Regions from separate parts of the Homo sapiens genome. Here region 2 is linked to region 1. The links are contacts of gene promoters, found by promoter capture Hi-C in blood cells and fetal thymus (Javierre and others, 2016). All regions are on one chromosome and are shown on one strand. Each heading gives the region's core, a stretch centred on a gene start or on the middle of the fragment in contact. The rest is flanking DNA. Distances are from core to core; before and after follow the strand shown.

What was found. Contacts are between HindIII fragments. The CHiCAGO score rates a contact against its expected background, and 5 or more counts as called.
Region 2: a contact is called between a fragment that was not itself captured here and the fragment with the promoter of NKD1 in region 1, in 9 of 17 cell types (activated CD4 T cells, neutrophils, non-activated CD4 T cells and 6 more). The highest score is 11.3, in activated CD4 T cells.

Annotation. Positions count from the first base shown.
Region 1 is chr16:50,544,507-50,550,964 of GRCh38, reverse strand. NKD1 (NKD inhibitor of Wnt signaling pathway 1) reads right to left here and starts at 2,569. Exons shown (of 10, transcript NM_033119.5): 1 at 2,387-2,569; 2 at 2,216-2,248; 3 at 1,410-1,543. The coding sequence starts at 2,411. RefSeq lists silencers at 2,247-2,436, 2,477-2,926. The HindIII fragment of the contact is 5,196 bases long and covers 1-2,976 here.
Region 2 is chr16:50,809,620-50,816,077 of GRCh38, reverse strand. No RefSeq gene overlaps it. Among named protein-coding and RNA genes, the nearest start is that of LINC02168, 6.2 kb to the right of the region's middle. RefSeq lists enhancers at 6,001-6,110, 5,937-6,458. The HindIII fragment of the contact is 5,044 bases long and covers 920-5,963 here.

The sequences.
Region 1 (6,458 bases), core at 1,320-3,819:
AAAGAAAAAGAAAAAGGAGGGACTGCAAATAAATGTCATTCTGCAGGAATACTTTGTAAAAATAAACAGGCTGAAAAAACCCAAAACTTGATTAATGGAAATCCACTCAGTTGGCCTCTGTCTGGAGCTGTAAATGCATTTGTTCATACGGCTAAATTAGACCGTTTTCGTTGGCCTTTAAATAAATAAGTAGATCAAAAACTAGAAAGGGCAGGGGAAGAAGGAGAGGTTTGTAGTTCTCTTTTTAAAGGGCCCCAACTGCAGTGCCCCCCGCCCACCAAGATTTGACCTTTACTAGGGGACAGCAGCTCCAAGTCCGACCCGGCCAACAGAAGACAGAGAAGCCCCCAGCTAAGCAGTGGCGGTGGAGGAGGACAGGGGAGCTTCTCCTAGGCCCAGAGGTTATTTCATCCACACACAGGAACTGACTTTATCCACAGGTCCACCTCCCGACACCAGCACTGCAAGCGAGCTGCCAGGTCCCACCACCCAAATACAAACACATCTGAAGTCTCCACTGGCCTCTCCCCAGCCCATGGATAAGACCAAAGAACTAACCAGACCTGAGACTCAGTCTATTCCCCCTCTAAGTTAAAAAAAAAAAAAAAAATTAAATGTCACATCAAAAAGTTGATTCATCCTTTGATCCTAGGCTTGCGCGAGTTCCACGCAGACTGCCTGAAAGCCCCGTGCAGAGTTCCGGAGCTCACAGGACATCTGTGAACGCCAAGTCCCAGGCCAGGAGCTGGGGCTGGACTCACTCATTCCCATCACACTTAGTGCTCCTCCAGGAACTCCAGCCTCAGAGACACACGGGGTGAAGGCTCAGGGCTCTGCCCAGGCTACAGTGGAATGAGGCCCTCTATCTCATATGCCAAGTAAGGGGTCTTCCAGGTCTCAGTCCCCCTAGATCTGCTACCCAGAGGGCCGCCTGCTCTACTGGGGTTCCTGTACAGGTGGTACTGATGAATGCCACAGACAATCAGAACATATTCAGATCCTGGGGCCAGCACAGCTCTGCCTTCCACCCAGACACCCCTAATACCCCCTTCTCTCTAGCCCCTACTCCACCTCCACCTTTGAATGCTGGTGGCAGAAACAAGGTAGAAGTCAGAGCAGGCCCCCAAATCCCGCCGGTACAGACACGATTCCCCATCAACTGGACCTTCACCACCTCCCCACCTAGGACCTTTCCCCCAGGCAGCCCTCTGCCTCCAGCTGGGCACTTCGAGGTTCTCCAAGGCATGCGGGCAGAGGGTCGCGTTGGTGGGGCAGGGGGCAGCTGAGAAGAGATTTTCAGACCCAGAAGCTGTGCAGGAAAGTGCTCAAAGTTGGGGTGCATGGGTTTGGGGACCCATCTCTGAGGCTGAAAGGAGGCCAGGAGGTGGGGCAGGGGTGGGGAATCATACCCGGGTGCTTCGGCCTATGGTGCCCGCCAACCGCAGCTGTCGGGGTCCCGAGACACCGCCCGGGCAGCGCTGTCTCCCGATCCACTCCTCGATGCCCTTCCGAGCCCAGGCAGCGCTCACGGCGAAGCTGTCACCTGGGACGGGGACGACATGAAGCCCCTGAGTCTGGCTCCAGGTGCCAAAAGTTACCCCCGCGGAGGGAAGAAGGAGGCGCGGTGGGAGGCGAAGGACCACGGCACGGGGGCCAGGAGGGGGTTCGCGGGCTGGGGCAGGAGCCAAGAGAGGGACGCGGGTAAGTAAAGGGGGGTTCAGCGAAGCCCTAGGAGCGAGGAGCCAGAAGGGGGCAAGAGGGGTGAGCAGTACCCCAGGAGGACGGGTTTAGGATCAGACCAGGGAGCACTGGCAGCCAGGACTGCGGAGGAGAGGGCTGGGGGTCAGGAGAGGGGCCGCAGTAGGTGCAGGAGCCAGGATATCGGAAGAAGGGCCGGGGGGCAGGAAGAGGGGGCAGGGTCTTGCGGGGAGGCGCTTGGGGGTCTGAAGAGAGGGTGCCGTGAGAGCCGAGGGCAGGGACGCGGGAGGGGGAGGGGTTGAGGGTCAGCGGTGGGAGCGCAGGACCGCGGGGAGCGGGTAGGAGGGACAGAGGAGGGGGCGCGAAGGCTGCTCAGGGAGCGGGCTTGGGGGGCCGGTGGCCGGAACTGGGGCTTCGGGGTGGCCCTGGTCATAAGACCTGGCGGGCTGGGCCGTTCTGCCGCGGCCGCGGTGTCCCCCGCGTCCATCCCCGAGGTCTGCGCCCCGCGCGCCCCTACCTTCCGGGCTCTCCCTGCGCTTGCACACGGCGGCTGCAGGCACATCGCGAGGCGGCGGCGGCGGCGGCAGCCGCGGCGGCGGGAGAAGGAAAGAAAGGAAGGGAGAGAGTTAGCGACCGCGGCGGCGACGGCGGCGGGGCCCGGGGCGAGCGCGCGGGCGGGGGCACTGACCCGGCTTGGAGTGAAGTTTCCCCATGCTGGGGCTGCGGCGGCCGGGAGCGTCCCTAAGCCATGCGCCCGGCCCGCGGGCCTGGCGCCTCCCTTGGCTCTCCTCCTCCCGAAGCAGCCCCCGAGCCGAGCGGAGCCCGAGGCGGCGCCGGGACGCGCTCCTGCCGCCGTCGCCGCGGCCCGACTGACGCCCGGGAGCGCCGAGCCCCCAGCCCGCCGCCGCGGCCCGCGCCTCCCCGCGCGCCCATTGGCCGGTGCGGCGCATCAAAGGCAAGGCTGGTTGCGGCGGGGGCGGGGCCGGAGGCGGGGCAGGGCGGGGACGAGGGCGGGGCGCTGACGGGAGGGGCGGGACACAGTCCGCGCTCCCTGCCGCGGTCTGGGGCCGGGGGCCGAGCTCCAGGGCTGGCGACCCGGCGGGGCGGCTTGTCCAGGAGGCGTATTGGGACAGAACAGCCCGGCCATCGCTAACTGTACTGTCACTTCCCTCCGCTCCACGTTCTCTCTAAACGGGCAGGGCGGGACTCGGCGGCTCCAATTTACAGGTGGGGAAACTGAGGTCGGGAGCGGAGACCTTAGCTGCTCAGGTGCAAGCTTCGGCAGCGCTGCCTTTTCCCAGTCTTCCCACGACCTACCTTCTGCAGAAAGTGTTCATTACCCGCCCCGTGACCCGCCCCCCACCACCGCACTCCTCTAGTTTCTTATTTGGGGAGTCCAGGAGGAGCCCCCAGCGCACCCCGGGCCAGTGTGAGCCCAGCCCTCTCCAGGCAGCGACAAATGTCCAAAGCGCCCCGTTATCAGCCAGTCTCTGGGATCTCCTCGTCCGGGGGCCCGTGGGTGCCCGCCCGGGTCGGGGCGCGCTGCCAAACTGCGCGGCCCGGAAGGGGGTAACCGCTGAGTCTTTGATCTTCCTTGGTTTCCGCTCCCCGCTGCAGTTCGCCAGACCCAAGGGTTTGTTTGTTTTGTCTGGGGAGGTCTCTGCGGGGAGGTCGCGCGGGGGGAGGGGGATGGTGGCGGTCGACATCAAGGGATTCCACCCCACCTTTGTGGCTCTCAGAACGCCTGCCCCCTTCTGGGGACACTGTGGGTCCGTGTTACGCTCGTCCTGGCACCAGGCAGCTCTGGCGTGGGAAAAGAAAACCCGCAGCTCAGAGTGAGACCAGCCCCGACCTTTGGAGTGAATTACCTGTGCTCAGTTTTGTGATCTGTATAATGGAGGCTCCATTCTGCCCTTTTTGCCGACTCTCTAGAGCAGCACTGCCCAATAGAAATATAATGTGGGCCACATTTGTAATTTTAAATTTTCTTGTCGCCACATCTTTTAGAAGTAAAAAGAAATAGATGAAATATTAATAATATATTTCGCTTAACTCAATACAGTCAGCCCTCCTTATTCACAGGTTCCACATCTGTGGCATCAACCATCTGTGGACTGAAAATATGCAAAAAGAATAATACAGCAAAAATAAAGAATAAAAAACTTTTTAATATAGTATAACAACTATTTACATAACATTTACATTGTATTAGGAATTACAAGGAATCTAGAGATGATTTAAAGTATTCAGAAGGATGTGTGTAGGTTATATGCAAATACTACAGGACATTTTATATAGCGGACTTGACATCTGGGGATTTGGGTATCCTCTAGGATCCTGGAACCAGTCCCCAAAGACACCAAGGGAACACCATATATCCAAAATAGTATAATTTCAAGATATAATGAGATATTTTACATTCTTTGTATTGCGCTAAGTCTTTAAAATTCAGTGTGTATTTTACACTTAAAACACATCTCAAAGACTAGCCATATTGCAAGTGACCATTTGCACTTGGCTAGTGGCTACTGCATTGGGCAGCATCGCTCTGGAAGATCTACATGTCTCAAAAGGACATTAGGAATTCACAGCCCCCCAGAGTCATAAATCTCTTCATCCAAGTGTCTTACTTTCATGTTCCAAGCTTCCTTTTTTAACACCCTTTTTGGTGGAAACGAAGGCTAATGTTATAAGCAGGTACACTAAAATCCTGTTGGCCAGGTGGTTTCATTTGAAGAGTGCTGAAACCACAAAAATATATTACTGTTGTCATTTTTATGTTACAATTCTTCATTCAGTACTTCTGATGTGCCAGTCCTCATCCTCCATCATGTGTAGCCCTCGCAACCACTCTCTGATGCAGACTCATACTTGTTCTAGAAAGGAGGGAACCTATTCAACTCAGAGAGGTGAACTCACTTGCCCAAGGTCACAAAGTTCATCCATGACCCAATTAGGAACTGAACTCCAATCTGTTGATTTCATTGCCCAGGCTTGTTTTCACTACATCAGGTTGTCCCAACACAGTGCAAAACTAATGTTCCACCACTAGAAAGAGAGTCTTCCATCTGGAAACAAATATGAAGGGCCAGCCATGTGACAACCATTGTTTTAGTCACCTAAGATACATCGGTGAACAAAATAGACAACTGCCACTCTCATCGAACTCCCACTCACCTAGGGGGAAGATAGGCAAGAAACAATAAATGATGAATTAGTAAACAGTGTAGTAAGTTACACCAGGGGTAACAGGCCATTTTTCTTTCTTTCCATCCCATAAGGACCTGACAGCAAACAATTTTGCCCTCTAGGGGACACTTGGTAATGCCTGGAGGTATCTAGTGGGTAGAGGCCAGGGTTGCTGCTACACATACCACAATGCATAAGGCAGCCCCCCCACCCTACCAGAACAAATGATCCAGCATCAAATGTGGGTAATGCTGAAGTAAGAACCCCTGAGCTGTAGGAACATGAAAAAGTGGGGCAGAACGGCGGGGGTCAGGTGTAGGAGGGAGGCAGGGGTTTGAGCATCTGAGTCGGAGTGGGCACCCTCTTTCAGACCCCTCAAAAGGCAATGGAATTCGTCTGGAATTCCTGTTTGCCTTTCTCACCCCTCCCTGCTGGTACCAGGGTGCCTCTAAATCAAAGCAAAACTTGGAGCATCCTTTCTCACAGTGCTTAGAAAGTTGGTTACTTTCTTAAACCGGTCCTGGCTTTCTTCTTCCATGAGAAAAAAGTATCCCCTCTTCCCCTTGGGAATTTCTTTTTACAGTTCAAAAAGAGATAAAAGCAAGAACTAAAACTGCAGTTAGCAGTTTGAGTCTTGCGGGGAGTAAATCCCAAATGTCCAGCCCAGACACAAAGCCCCCCTCCACCTTCACCCTGGTGCCTCCCAGCCCAGCAGGCGCCTGGGACTTCACTGCTATTGGAATCATGATACCCTTACCCGGATCTGGGGTGAGAACCCAAGAGATGGGCCTTGTGGCAAAATGTTAGTCTGTCCAGGTCTCTGAGAAGGGGGTCTCCAGGGGCCACCAGCATGCTGTCTACCTGGGGTGGCCATTCGGCCTCCGAGGGCTTCCCACCCCATAACTCACTGTCTTTTCGTGTGTTTTAATAATTTATCTGGCCCATTTCTTGGGCTGTATACTTGCAGTGACACATCTTTTTCTTTGAAGATTTCCTATCCTTTGGGGGAGGAGAATGGGAAAGGAAGGCAAGGAAGAGATAAGAGAGAGAGATTATAACAGAAACGGGTTTCATGGGGCTTGAGATTTAACAAGGCTGGTTTAGGTGAAATCTGTCAGACATAGAGCTGGGAGATTTAAAAAAAAAAAAAATCCTACATCACCCAAGTTAGCTGCTCCAAAGCTTGTCCCCGAAGTTAAGCCATCTGATCTGGCCCCTTCAAATGCCATTTCCTAAAGGAAGCCCTCCTTGACCTTCCAACCTGAAGGGCTCTTCTCTGCTCTGATTAGCCAAGGTTTCCCTGCCCCCTCCCATCTCCACTTATTTTATGCATGAGGCTAAGTTTCACTCCTGGAGCCAGGGCTCCTTGAGGCCAGGGTTCTTGCCTTACTTGCATCTCTGAATGCAATGCCGAACACAGCACTGCCTATAGCAGGTGCCATCACACCTGCTGTGGAAGGAGACAAACTCTCTCTGCCCAGCCTCAGCCAGGAGCATGTTGTGGTCAATAAGGAGGGAGTACTGCCAATAATACGATCTTGGATATATGAAGGAGAAAATCAGTTCCCAAG
Region 2 (6,458 bases), core at 2,192-4,691, 260 kb before region 1:
TCGGCACAACATACAGGTCATAAAGACCTTGCTGATAAAACAATTTGCAGTAAAGAAGTCAGCCAAAACCCACCAAAACCAAGATGGCACTGAGAGTAACCTCTGATCGTCCTCACTGCTACACTCCCACCAGGGCCATGACAGTTTACAAATGCCATGGCAACCTCAGGAAGTTAGCCTATACGGTCTAGAAAGAGGAGGCATGAATAATCCACCCCTTGTTTAGCATATCATCAAGAAATAACCATAAATATGGACAACCAGCAGCCCTTGGGGCTACTCTGTCTATGGACTAGCCATTATTTTATTCCTTTACTTTCTTAATAATCTTGCTTTCACTTTACTCTATGGATTTGCCCCGAATTCTTTCTTGTGTGATATCCAAGAATGCTCCCTTGGGTCTGGATCGGGACCCCTTTCCTGTAACAGGATGAGTAGGTGTGGACGGGGAAGACAGGTGGCTTCCCAGCTCCGGGTGGAAGGCCAGAGCACTAGAGCCTGAGAGACTGGGGACAGGGCAGGGAGGGAATGTGGACCAGGTGAGCATCCAGGGAGGTGAATGAGGAAGCTGAGAAGCGTTCGGTTTAGGTTGGGGAAACAAAGACCATCCAGAGGGGTGCAGCCAGGGGCTCAGGTCTGGAACATTCTACCCCATCCACACCAGCTGCCAGAGGGGAGTCCCCGTGCTCCCTATTCATTACCTGACATAACTAATTGTCTGGTGACATTTCCCATATTATAGACAAATGTGACTTATGGGCCCAGCTGTTCCCCTTCTCGTCAGCAGGAATCGGTTGATAAATATGTTTATTCGAGGTCAGCCTGGCCTCATCCATTAGAAATATTGTTTTTCTAAACATTACATTGATTTAATTTAACTCTAATCAATTTAAAATGGTTCTGACAATTAACAAAAGCTTCAAATATGACCTTAAAGTAATAGGATTCATTAGCTATGTTTAGGATTAAACTTACCCTAATAGGGCAATTTTTCTTCCGAGGGTATTTGGTAAGCGACTGGTGGTCAGTCAAAATGAAATCAATTATTATAAATTATACAGTTAAAGTTGATTATGTATCCCCTGCTAATTTGTATAAATAAGGGTCTCTGACAATGGGAGTAATTTATTAATAACTATCTCTACCCCAGCCCGGTATCACACTTCATGTTACAGCTGCCAGGGCATCTATAACCCATGAAGTATTATTTTCCAGGGCTGCTCACGATGTATGCTAATTACACCCATAATTAATTGGAACAGTTATAGTTAAAGACACAATGCTGGCGCCCTTTGCCCTGTTATTCATGATAGTCAACTCATTCAAAAGGCAAGCTGATCAAAAATTCATATGCTAGCTCGGGCGCCCCAAAAGGAAGGCGATCACACTGCAAAGGGTGCCTGTGACATGACAGCTGGTGTGTGGGGAGAGGCAGGTGTAGTCAGAATTCAAGCCCTGCACCTTTCTGGGGTTCCCGCCCTGCCACCACCCACCAATCCCCCAGGGGGAAGGTATATAGAGCAGGATGTCTAGGCCAGAGCTCAAATAGCTGGTCCATATGTTACAGGACAGGGGTCCCAATCCAGACCCCAAGAAAGGGTTCTTGGATCTAGCACAAGAAAGAATTTGAGGTGAATCCATAGAGTAAAGTGAAAGCAAGTTTATTAGGAAAGTAAAGGCATAAAAGAATGGCTACTTCAAAGGCAGAGCAGCATCATGGGCTGCTTGACTGAGTATACTTATAGTTATTTCTTGGTCATATGCTAAACAAGGGGTAGATTATTCATGAGTTTTCCAGGAAAGAGGCAGAGATTTCACTGAACCGAGGGTTCCTCCCCTTTTTAGGCCATATGGGTAGCTTCCAGATGTTGCCATGGCATTTGTAAACTGTCATGGCGTTGGTGGGAGTGTCTTTAACATGATGATACTTTGTAATTAGTTCATAATGAGCAGTGAGGACAACCAGAGGTCACTTTTGTCGCCACCTTGGTTTAGGTGGGTTTTGGCCGGCTCCTTTACCACAACCTGTTTTATCTGCAAGGTCTTTGTGACCTGTATTTTGTGCCGACCTCTTAGCTCATCTTGTGACTTAGAATGCCTTAACCTGCTGGGAATGCAGCCCAGTAGGTCTCAGCCTCATTTTACCCAGCCCTTATTCAAGATGGAGCTGCTCTGGCTTAAACGCGTCTGGCACATACAGAGTTAAAAAAAAGAAAAGTTGCCAGATTTGTACAGATCAGGAACTTTTGCTTCTCTTAGAAATTTCTGACTTCGTCTGAAAAATCAGAACATAGGCCAGGTGCGGTGGCTTACGCCTGTAATCCCAGCACTTTGGGAGGCCGAGGCGGGTGGATCACGAGGTCGGGAGTTCAAGACAAGCCTGGCTAAGATGGCGAAACCCTGTCTCTATTAAAAATACAAAAAAATTAGCCAGGCATGGTGGCACTCACTGCTACGCAGGAGGCTGAGGCAGAGAACTGCTTGACCCCGGGAGGTGGAGGTTGCAGTGAGCTGAGATCGCACCACTGCACTCCAGCCTGGGCAGCAGAGCGAGACTCCGTCTCAAAAAAAAAAAAAAAAATCAGAATATACTGGCCTGCTTCTTCCTTTCCTTTACCATATCAGCTCTCCACCAACACTCCAACCTTCTCCCTTCCCTAAGGTACCTGCCTGGCCCCTGTAGGCAAGTGAGCTTGAGAGTCCCAGTCTAGGATCCTTCATTTTACAGATAGAGGGACTGCGGTTCATAGACAGACATCTTGCCAAGGATCATGGAGTGACCAGAGTCCAGTAGCTTGGGTATGACTGGTTTCACAGAGCACCCAGCTCGAACTGGTGGCCCCCAGCGAGGTGGATCGGCCCCTGAGTGGGCACTGTCCCTGCCTGGCTCTAGCCAAGGCCTGGAGGGAAGAGACTGCCCATAGTGAACCAAAGCTCAAGGCTCAAGGGCTCCTAGACAGTGGGGATGAAAATGAGCCAACACCATGCACTGGACGTTTGCCATTGAAAGCAACAGGCTGAACTGGGTAATTCTAGATGATCCAGATGTGGGTGAAGGAAATTCTTCTGTGGCATGCCAAGGAGAAAGGGACTGGAAAAGTCTTCCCGCCCAAAATAGCATGGTGCAAAAAGCACCCAGCTTGGAAATGCCCATGTGAAATGGCCGGTGGCCGCGCAGCTTCCTGAGAATCATTCAGTCTCCCGACAAATATGGGAGGAGGCCACAGTTGGTGCCCCCTGTTCTGGTTGCTGATGAGACAGGGACAATGTGGTTTTCACCCTCTGGGGGACCCACTGCCGAGCTGACAGATGAGTATAAAGCATTGCGCAAATGCAAGGACTCCTGGAGGGGGTGTGGGGACCGTGGGCACCTCGGGCTCACGTAGAAGGAGCTGAGACTTCGTCTCTACTCAGGCAAGTGCCTGGGAATATGGCTTTTGTATAGGGACAGGCTTGACTTCCTCCTGAGTGTGTCCACCTGAGGCAGGAGGTGGCAGGTTGGTGAGGAGGGAGAGGTGGGGATGGTGCAGGCCTAAGGCCTGGAAGAGCACTGGGGAGCCGCTGAGGGACAGGGTGGAATCAGGAGCTAGAGCCCTCTTGGCTGCAGAGTGTACGGCTGAGGCCACCAGCCCTGCCAGACTGTGGAATCCTCACAGTTCAGGAAGCCCAAGGAAGATTGGTGTTTGAGTCACTTAAGGAAGGCCTGGTGTGCATGGCAGGAAGAGGCTCCTCTCCACCCAGGAAAGCCTGCAGAGCTCGGACCAAGCGCCAGCCCCAGGCGCTGGGCCTCCCTAGTCAGAGCCTCGAGCTGCCCTACAATGTCCCAGGGTGAAATGGCCCCCCGTGAACACGGACTTCCCATGCTGGGGTTCTGTTCCAGCTCTGCCTCTAACTCTGCCCGTGGGTGCAGCCCTGCCTCCCTAGGCAGCAGCCTTTAAAGTTGGAGAACTTTAGAAAATTCTCCAACTTTAAAAAGAAAGATTGAGCTGGGACTGGGAGGCTGAGATGGGAGGGTTGCTTGAGCCCAGGTTTTCCAGCCTGGGCAACATAGTGAGACAGACCCTCTTGCTAATGAATTAAAGAAAGAAAAAGAGAGAGAGAGAAAGAGAGGGAGAAGGGGTGGACCCATCTCAATGGCTCCAGTGACTGAGGTCCTTGATGCTAATGGTAGTCCAGACTAGCTTTCTACTTTCTACACTGCTTTCTGGGCTGACTTTCAGTCTTTTTCTCGACCCTGTGCTGAGCCTGGGTTTTATCAAAAAAAGGAGAAAACACACAGGCACATGCACCTTGAGCTGGAGGTGACTACTCCAAGTCACTGAACTTCAACACTACAGAAAGTTTGTCAGATCCCAGAGTGGTGGCTCATGCCTGTAATAGAGCTTCCGGATGCCCAGGCAGGAGGATCACTTGAGGTCAGGAATTCAAGACCAGCCTGGGCAACATAACAAGATCACCTTCTCTACGAAAAATTTTTAAAATTGGCTGGGCATGGTGGTGCATGCCTGTAGTCCCAGATACTTGGGAGGCTGAGGCAGGAGGATCGCTTGAGCCCAGGAGTTCGAGACTAGCTTGGGCAACATAGTGAGATCCTGGTCTCATAAAAAATAAATTCATGAATGTGTCAAAACTCATCTAACTGCTTACTTAAAATATGTGTATGTTACTGTATGTAAATTACACCTCAGTGGAGTTGGTTAAAAAATAATAATGAAAGAAGGAAGGAGTGTAAACTTTGGAAAAGTCTGCAGCTGTCTCTCCTAAAGCTAAAATCCACCAATTCAAGAAGGATCACAGTAGGGTCATGTGTAGTAGCCCCAAACTGTCAGCAATGCCCCTTTCCATCAGTATGAGAACCATAAATAAACGATTGTATATTTACGTAAGAGAGCATCACATAGCTATGAAGTAGAATCACTGACATACACAACAGAGACAGTCTGAAGGATGCACACAGCATGACATCAGACACTACCTGAAGTGTGCACGATCTATGACTCCCTTTACATAAGTTCAAAACCTGGCAACAGGGATCTACAGTGACAGAAGTCAAAATAGTGGTAATCACTGGTGCAGGGAGGTAACTTGACTTGGGGGAGCAGAAGGAGCCTTGGAGGTGCTGGGAAAGGTCCCCAGGTTGACCTAATGTATGGCTGCAAGAGTGTGTGGAAATGTAAATTTCCTTGAGCCCTATACAGGGGCCCAGTGCCCTTTACGATAACAAGGTGCATCTCAGTAACAAAGAGAGAAAGGAAAAGGGAGCAGCCCATGCTTCCCCAGTGCCATTCAGGGTCTAGATTCTGGGCCACCCCTGGCAGCGCCCCTCCTCGCCAGCACTGTGGCTCTGTGCATAGCCCTGGACACGGACAGAATATGACAGAGCTGGAGCCCACACCCACAGCAGATAGGCTGGCAGGGGCGAAGGGGCTACCAGGGGCTGGAGGAAATAAAACTCAAGCTAAGCACAAGGCCGCCCTCCCAGGCAGGGTAGATGGCATGCTCTCTTGGCACTCTGGGCTATAGGATGGGCACCAAACACAGGCCACACTGAAGAGCAGCAGGCCCTTACCTGACTGAACAGTGGGAACCCTGCCAACTGCTCCCTAGCTGAGGGGACAGTGCTGGGGCCCAGCAGAGCCTTGCAGGCATCTCCAGAGAGACCGCAGAAGCAGGCAGGAGCTGAGGGAATCATCTTGGACCAACCTGCCCTCCTCCCACTCGTCATTTTTAGAGTCAATGCCAGGCTACTAGAGGCAGGTGGCCCTGACTTCAAGTCCCACTGGCTCTGCCTGACCCTCAGCTTTCTCATCAGATAATTAGGGATGAAGTTCTCACAAGAATAAGGGAGCATATATAGGAAGCACCTAACCCAGGGCCCAATGTTCACCAAATGGGGAAACTGAGGCCCAGAGAGCAGATACACACACCACAATCCAGGTAGGCCAGGCACAGTGGCTCAAGCTTGTAATCCTAGGACTTTGGGAGGTCGAGCTGGGAGGATTGCTTGATCAATTTCTTCCTCATCCCCTGCTCTGGGGTTTCCAGAATGCAGTCCCTCCCACAGTTGCTCTTCTACTTAGCCCAAACCACCTCATCTCTCCCACCTCCTCTGTCCACACAGCATGTTCCAGGCATGCGCCACTCCCCACAGCACTCTATGTTCAGGGTCTCTCTGTCCCAGAACCCCTATCATCTGAGGCTGGGAAAGGGTGACGGCATTTACCTATGGGGCAAGGGGGCTCCCCATGGTCACGCCTAGCTGCTGCTTTCGTCCTGCGGGACAGTCCCACAGCACAGGTCTGGTTAGGAAGTAACACCAGTGAGATCATTGAGCTCCTTTAGCCCTAGTTTCTCCAGCTGTGAAATAAAACTCTCCATTCTGTCTACTCAGAGGGTGGGGACAATGGGTGTGAAAAGGTTTTCTAGGTGGCTACCTGGAGAGTTGAACATAAAGCAGA